2 separate regions of the Homo sapiens genome follow, and region 1 is linked to region 2. The links are contacts of gene promoters, found by promoter capture Hi-C in human tissues and cell types (Jung and others, 2019). All regions are on one chromosome and are shown on one strand. The core of a region is centred on a gene start or on the middle of the fragment in contact, and the rest is flanking DNA. Distances in the headings are between cores, read along the strand shown. Region 1 holds the start of ADH5 (alcohol dehydrogenase 5 (class III), chi polypeptide). Region 2 holds the start of ADH1B (alcohol dehydrogenase 1B (class I), beta polypeptide).

The links. Contacts are between HindIII fragments. The study calls those that stand out against the background at their distance.
Region 1: a contact is called between a fragment that was not itself captured here and the fragment with the promoter of ADH1B in region 2, in 1 of the 25 tissues and cell types used here (H1 embryonic stem cells).

Annotation. Positions count from the first base shown.
Region 1 is chr4:99,084,837-99,089,025 of GRCh38, forward strand. It overlaps ADH5 (alcohol dehydrogenase 5 (class III), chi polypeptide), which reads right to left and starts at 3,952. Exons shown (of 9, transcript NM_000671.4): 1 at 3,853-3,952; 2 at 279-380. The coding sequence starts at 3,864. It overlaps LOC100507053 (a long non-coding RNA gene), which reads left to right and starts at 4,021. Exons shown (of 10, transcript NR_037884.1): 1 at 4,021-4,189. RefSeq lists a promoter at 3,897-4,189 and a silencer at 3,935-3,984. The HindIII fragment of the contact is 9,272 bases long and covers 1-4,189 here.
Region 2 is chr4:99,319,067-99,323,149 of GRCh38, forward strand. It overlaps ADH1B (alcohol dehydrogenase 1B (class I), beta polypeptide), which reads right to left and starts at 2,335. Exons shown (of 9, transcript NM_000668.6): 1 at 2,248-2,335. The coding sequence starts at 2,265. RefSeq lists a promoter at 2,301-2,607 and an enhancer at 2,501-2,607. The HindIII fragment of the contact is 12,641 bases long and covers 1-4,083 here.

The sequences.
Region 1 (4,189 bases), core at 1,690-4,189, 230 kb before region 2:
TTACCTTAAACCTAAACTGCAGAAGATAAATTGCAATAATCCAGTGACCCATGGGGATAGCTGCTCAGCCCAAGATCAAAACTAAAAGAGATGGAGAAGCATGCTGCAAAGGTGAAAGATAAGAGAAGGATGTTGTGATTGTAAGGCTGGATGACTTTCAACACCTTTTCTTTGACACTGTCCTTTGGGATTTATCCTCTGCAGATCTCAGATCTACTCATCTATCCAGAGACCTCATTGTGTCTCTTTTTTTCCCAGTGCCTTAAATGTATCATTACCTTGATTCGAACTTCATGAGCCTTTGGGGGTGCCACCTCTATCTCCTCTATGGAGAGAGGCTTTCCAGCCTCCCAAGCAACTGCAGCCTTGCACTTGATAACCTGAAGTGGGGAAAAAAGGGAATAAGCTGTTTATCCTCCTAAACAAGTAACTACTTAATAGCCAATTTAGATACAGATTAATGCTAATCTTAAAAAGTATATCACAGATTCACAAAGAAACATATGCTTCCAAGTGATATGTTTTTAGATTTCACACAAATAGTATACATCAAAAATGATTTAATTGAGATGATTACCTGGTCAGATAGAAAAGTATCTTTTGGTTAAAAAGTTGTACTCATCAAATATTTAATGGCCTTCTACAGTGCATATGCAAAAGCAGGTTAAGAACACAAGTTCCGAGAGAATCTGATTCAGCAGGTCTGGCATGGGGTCCAAGAAATCTGCATGCTTAACATATGCCTGAAGAAATTCTTTTGCTCAGGCTGTTCTGAATACCACCGGCTTGGTGCAAAACTGCAGGGTGGGAAGGAGGATTAGGAGTGTAACAGTGAGGAGCTATATCCCTTGTAACTGCACCGGCCAATACAGCAGCCACTTGCCAAATATGACTACTGAGCTCTTAGAAAATGACCACTGGCCGGGCTTGGCTGCTCACGCCTGTAATCCCAGCACTTTGGGAGGACAAGGTGGGCAGATCATGAAGTCAGGAGTTCAAGACCAACCTGGCCAGCATGGTGAAACCTCATCTCTACAAAAATACAAAAATTAGCTGGGCATGGTGGTGCGCATCTGTGTGGTCCCAGCTACTCAGGAGGCTGAGGCAGGAGAATGGCTTGAACCCGGGAGGTGGAGGTTGCAGTGAGCCGAGATTGTGCCACTGCACTCCAGCCTGGGCAACAGAGCGAGACATCGTCTCAAAACAAACAAACAAACAAACAAAACTGAGATATGCTATAAATATAGCTGGACTTTGAAGACTTAGTTCAAAGAAAAGTAAAAATATCTCATCAACAGTATTTTTAAAAATACTGCTTACATGTTGAAATGGTAGTTTATTTATAACAACATTATAAATAATGTAATTTAACATAATTAAAATATTAAAACTTCACTTTTTCCTTTTTAATGAGGCTACTGAAAATTTAAAATTACACGTGACTAATTATAGCACACAGACCTGCTTTAGAGATTATAGTCATGTATACCCTCCATTACAAGAGAATCACACGTAATGAGAAAGGTTCTAATTAGTTTACATTACACTTGAGAAATGTGTGGACAGACTAAAGGTTGTAAGCCACTGGGTTTACAGGAGACAGACTTTAAAGTTAATAATTACAAAGAGTGTGATTTAAAGAGACAGGCACAAAGTAATACAGAAAGCAAAAAAAGTAGGTTAAGAGTGTAACTTTGCTTGGTTTGGGAGAGCTTCACTTCTAACCAGGATACTGAAGGATGAGGAAAAGGTAATTATAAATGGTGGTAAAACACCTACATATAGGGTGATTGTGAGAACTGAATAAGAAAGAATATGAAGTCCCTGGCCGGGCGCGGTGGCTCAAGCCTGTAATCCCAGCACTTTGGGAGGCCGAGGCGGGCGGATCACGAGGTCAGGAGATCGAGACCATCCTGGCTAGGTGAAACCCCGTCTCTACTAAAAATACAAAAAATTAGCCAGGGGAGGTGGCAGTCGCCTGTAGTCACAGCTACCGGGGAGGCTGAGGCAGGAGAACGGCGTGAACCCAGGAGGCGGAGCTTGTAGTGAGCCGAGATCGCGCCACTGCACTCCAGCCTGGGTGACAGAGCAAGACTGCGTCTCAAAAAAAAAAAAAAAAAAAAAAAAAGAATATGAAGTCCCTAACACAATCCTTGGCACAGCATAGCTTTGCAAAATAAGTTAGTAGTTATTGGTAGCAACAGAACAAACGGTTGAGGGAAAGGAGAGGTGAACTACATAGAGATATAAAAAATGGCCTCTGTAGGCCGGGTGCAGGGGCTCACGCCTGTAATCCCAGCACTTTGGGAGGCCGAGATGGGCGGATCACCTGAGGTCAGGAGTTGGAGACCAGCCTGGCCACTATGGCGAAACCCCGTCTCTACTAAAAATACAAAAATACCGAGCATGGTGACGGGCGCCGGTAATCCCAGCTACTCGGGAGGCTGAGACAGGAGAATCGCTTGAACCCGGGAGGCAAAGGTTGCAGTGACCCAAGATCGCGCTATCGCACTCCAGCCTGGGAAACAAAGAGCGAAACTCCGTCTGAACTGGCGGGGGAGGGGGGGGGGAGGGAAATGGCCTCTGTAAATTGGTGAGGTTGGAAATGTGGAAATGATCGTTTTTAAAATTAAATTGCAGATATTAAATCTCATAGTACAAAGAATCAGACACTGCATTAGAACCTTTTTCATTTCAATGTGCCATAAATTTCAACTCCACAAGTCAGATTCAGAATACTAACAATTAAGTTATGCAACATAGGAATCCAAAGAAACAAGAATACTAAATTTGATGGCCTGCTCCCCTTTAAAAAATGTCTTAATGGAGCCTAACCTTTTCCTTTTACTGACAATTCTAAGCAAAACAAAGCCCCACTCTAAATCCGCGGGAAATGGCCCTACTTCAACATTTGAACTATAGTAACAATTATAATCTTTCACCTTCTCTGAATAAAGACACTCAGTAATAAGGAAAAGCAACTACCAGTTTAAGTCTGAAAGACTGTTTAGAGTTTATTTCTTTCAAACTCCAATATGTTTAAGGCCATTTGTCTTACTAGAAAATGTCCAAAATTGCAAAACATTAAAATAATCAGCAACTTTAGACTGAGTATGTTATTCGTAATTTCTGCCTTTCTTTACTGTCTAATTTGTATTTTATGAATTTGTCATAGAGGAGCAGACCTGGGTCGGAATCCCAGCTCGCCATCGTTGGTGTGACCAAGCACAACCAACCTCAAACCTCAGTTTTTGGTAAGATGGGGATAACACCTCGCAGAGGTGTTTGTTACGTGAGGACTAGAGGGAATATAAATCTCTTGGTATTTAAGTGCTCGAAAATGTTTCTGAAAGGGACGTAGGGGTCTTTCCAAAATACACTCCTTGGAGGCACAATAATTAAGGCGTAGGCTCAATTATGCAACACAAGCAACCTAGGAGTTAGAAGCACGGGATCTGGCTGCAGCTCTGCCAAGTATGCAAGCTGCAAGAATGACCCAGAGCGAGTTACTTAATTTCGTGTAAGAAGCAATGCGTGGCCGCTCCTAAGCCATTTCCACTGGGATACCGACCTGACCAGCCCCTGCCCCCCACTCTCCGGCTCTCCCACCCCCCCACCCCGTTCCGACTGTCCCAGAAGCAGCAAAGAAAGCTGCTTCCCAACTGAAGAGCCGAGACAAAGCTTCCTTCTCTTTCTGCCCCTCTGAGCCGCTCGCTGGGGGCCCAGTTTCAGAACCAAGAGCCAGATCCCGTCTTGGGCGCCGAGCCTCGCGCGCCCCCGAGGATAGCAGCCTAGTCCCATGCCATGCACTCCCTCCCTTGGACTCAGGGCCCTCCGCTCAACGGGCCCTACCTCGTTCGCCATGTTCACGGATTCTGGTCGGCGCGGGGGGCTGACATCCGGGGTGGGCCGCGCAGCGACGGAGGCATGGGCGTGGCGAGCGCCTAGCGAGGGGGGCGGGGCGTGGGGGGGGCTTGCAATGGCTCCAACCGGAAGGGCGGTGCTCGAGCTGTGGTGCGTGCCGCTAAGTTGTGCGTTCCAGGGTGCACTCGCCGGCGAGGCTGCACGGCGCCGGTTTCATTGCTAAAATCCGACGGACTTGTTGCAGAACTCGTTTTTTTTGTCGGGAAAGGGCTTCCCCGTGTAACTTTACAGCAGTTATCGTAGATAAGACTTGCAAATTACAGAT
Region 2 (4,083 bases), core at 1,085-3,584:
ATAAGGAAAGATAAACAAAGTATAATAAGACATTGAGAAAAATGGAATATATTTATTTAGGCCATTCTTATGTTGTTGTTTTTTCTCTGAAGGTGTTTATTCCTGGTATTTCCTAATGCCGTCCTGAAAATGCTCGTCTACCCACAACTATTAGCTGATATATGAAGTTAGAAGTCACCTTTATTTTGCTGACAGAGTCAGTGTCTGTCTACATAAAATACACTGCTTTATTGCTCAATTTTCTGCTTAGGCCAAAAGGATCTGACTCTATAAGAGCAATTATACATTTACCTTCCTGCGCACAATGACATTTCTTTCTCTCCCTATTTGCTTATTGTCCTCTTTTAATTTTCTCTCTCCACTACTTCTGTGTGCTACTTGTTTCCTACTCATTTGAAACTTAGCTTTGGCAGCCTGTTTTGTAATCTAATTTATGTGTAGAGACTTCTTTCAGCTTAGATTTGAGCCAAATATTATAGAGATTAGAGTTGGTGGTGTGTGTGTGTGCACGTGTGTGTGTGTGTATACACTCAGACCCACGCATGTATATTTTAAAACTGGAGAAACAGTGTGCTTGGATTTCTGTTTAGCAGAGCTTATCCATAGATGTTCTTAAAAATAAAGTTCAGCATATATTTCTAGTGCTTGGCAGTGTACTGTAAAACCCATCTTCGTTGTGGTAAAGCATGTATAATTCGCAGAGCCCTTTCTAGAAAGAACCAACATAATTGCAAATATAATTTAAAAATTCAATTGAGATTTATTTTTCTGCCAATTCATTTTCATTATTTATTTGTCAAAATTTTCAACTTTGTAGGATGTTCAACATGGTCAATGCCAAAATAAATACCAGAATACTTAGACAGAAGGTACTAATAGTAGGAAGATTCTTATTATGAGGTGCTTATGATGTGACAGGCACATTGTGACCTGTGCTGGGTAAATTACATGCATTATTTTTATCTTAAAATTTATTCATTGATTAATTTTTAATTTCAATAGTTTTTGGGGTGCAGATGGTTTTTGGTTACACGGATAAGTTCTTTAGTGGTGATTTCTGATATTTTGGTGCACCCCTCACACAAGCAGTGTAGACTGAACCCAATATGTAGTCTTTTATGTCTTATTCCTCCTACTGCCCTTTTCCCTCAGTCCCCAAAGTCCATTATATCATTCTCATCCTTTGTGTCCTCATAGTTTAGCTACCACTTTTAAGTGAGAACATTGGATATTTGGTGTTCCATTCATGAGTTACTTTACTTAGAATAACGTCCTCTAGCTCCATCAACCAGTCTTATTGATATGAGCCTGTTTGTCACACAATGCAGAGAGAAGCCTCAGAACCTTTAAATTGAATTATCATAGTGAGATATTTTACAGTGTGGTACACTCCTAACACAAAAAAAGGACTGGACATAGTTGCACAGGTTTATGTAATTAAACAATTAAAAAAATCAATTGATTATATTGAATGACCACATGCACCTGTAAACACATTGAGCAAATAAGTACAAATTTATAGAAGAAAAAACCAAATATCTGTATTCCTAGTGCTAAGTGATTCAAATTGTATTATTATTCAAATTGTATCATTGATTTTCTGTAAAACCATATTAACTTTTAAATGGGGAAGATACTGTTCCATAGGATTTTTGTGGAAATTCCCTGAATTGTATCATAATGGACCCCTTTTAATCAGAATTTGCATGTTGATGTCTTGCTTAACCTTGATGATTCTAATGCTGTGAAATCAATGAGTATTTTGTAAGATATTTTATAGTAAGGTTAAAGGATATTTCAGTCTTCTGAGTCAAATTCCTCTCATCAAACTTCTGTCAGACAACTTTCCTGTGTTCATAAAAAATTTGAATAAAAATAATAACACATTTGAATTATGGTTTCTTATTATAAAGATAACTTGCCATTAAAGACTTTTCTAACTTTAGATTTACAAATCAGTCATGATTAGCTTGGAATAAACTATCATTTTACTGTAAATTTATTTAATGTAGGAAATAAAGACTAATAGACACAGGTTCTATACATTCCTGTTAAAGGTACTTAAGAATAGCTTATTTCCACTGCAGTTCAGTATACATTACATATTGAGGTGTATATTGCATATCATATTTCAGCATATCATTTCTAATTTAGATATGAATTTTAAATTATTCATCAAATACTGTATTCCTTTCTTTGTTATATTGATGAGAATATATTACCAACAGTAATATATTTTTTGCTTACTTTTCCTGCTGTGCTCATGTCGTTTCTGTCTTCTCTGCCCACCAGCAGACTGTGAGTCTTTGTGGATTTCTTCTCTGCTTGAGTGCATAAAGCAGATATATTGCACAGATATTTATTTTGTTTGCTTGTGTAACATCCAATTCCAATTCCACACGTGATCTATGTCTTTAAGCCACACCCACTGGATTATTCCCAGACTGTCAAAACAGATAAAAGGGTACTGAACCAGCAATCAAAATATTGACTTCCAAATTCTAGATAAGATTTTGTTTTCATTAGTTTAAATATTAAGTTAAAGTGATAAATTGTAATCACTTTCTCTTTTCCTCACTTCCCACCCCCCCCCGGCCTCTGGAATTCCTTGTTTCTCTTCTTTCAATCCCACATAGGTCGTTCTGCCTTGTATTCCCTTTGTCTGCACTAAGCTGCAACTTTGAATGCACATGGGGTGGCGAGGAAGGAAGAAGAGTAAGAAAACAGGAAAAACGAAGTAGGATAGAGAGAGCAGCCTCTTTGTCTTTACAGCAGAGAATCAGACACCCAATTAGTCACAGCAAAGGGGATCACTGTGCCTGGCAATTCTGCTCCACTCAAAACTAGTATGTATGGACTGAACACCTCCCTGTGTCAGGCACTAAGCTGGGTCCAGTGGAGTAGCAGTGATGAATAAGACATGACCTCTGCCTGTGCCAAGAGGCAGTATGGGGCAGCGGTGATGGCATGGCTTGTGGGACCAGGCCAACCCAGTTCCTTACTTGTTCTGTGTACTTGGACTTATTATTTCACTGAATTTTTTTTGCCTTAATTTCCTTATCTGTGAGATGAAGATGAATAATGGCGTCATTTTAAAGGACTGTTTGTGAATAAATGAAATAATCCTTGTAAAGCACTCATCATGGAGTTTTGCAGATAGGAGCACCCTCCTAAATGTTAGCTACAATTATTATTCATGAAAGAAAGCTCACAGTTTATAGTGAAAAGACACGCAGGAAACCAAGTCTACATATCAGCCTGGCTGGGAAGTGCCCTATCACAGGGGTCAGTTAATGCTTTGGGAACAGAGACAGAGTTGCTATTCAGAATGAAGGACTCAGGGGAGGCATTGTAGAGGAACAGGCATTTGTGGCAGATTTTAAATAATTGTGAGAAATGGAGCAAAATCCTCACTGGATCATTTCCATTACCCTTTGATCAATGTAGCTAGTATCCTCATGGCTTTCCAAGCATAGGAGTTTGATTTTTCTTTTATCCACACTTGGAGGCGTCATAAAACTATACAGGCAACTATTTAATTAGATATAGTCTGTCAATATGAACATGTTAGCATAGAGGACATATTTCTCTAAAATTGCCAAGGGAACATTTCAGTAAGCTTTAATTATGTAGGCACTGAGACTCACACCAAGACTGAGAAACATTCACCCAATAGAAAGCAAAGGAGGTCCTATGATTTTAGTTGCTTCTAGTTTGGAAAGGTATGACGGAAAGAAGATAGCCCCAGATAACCTGGCTTTAGCCTTCTCATCCAACTATTCCTCACCATTCTCCAATACAGGGCCTATGCTCTTTAGAAGCATGTATCTCTGTGGTCCTCCAAAGAGGAATCCATTCCTCATTCAAGCTCTTGCTCATCATGCTTTTTCTCTTCTTTTCTGTCCCTCTGGCCCATTCAAATCCTCCCCAAACTTTGAGATCTAGGACAAGGTCGCCCTTGTGGAGATATGTTAACGCCATCTCACAGTCATGCTTCACTTCTTTCCATCCCTGTCATACTAGCATCCCTCCTGTGGTTTTAGGGCCCATTCTCTTTTGTGGCCTTTATATTTAGTGTAGAGA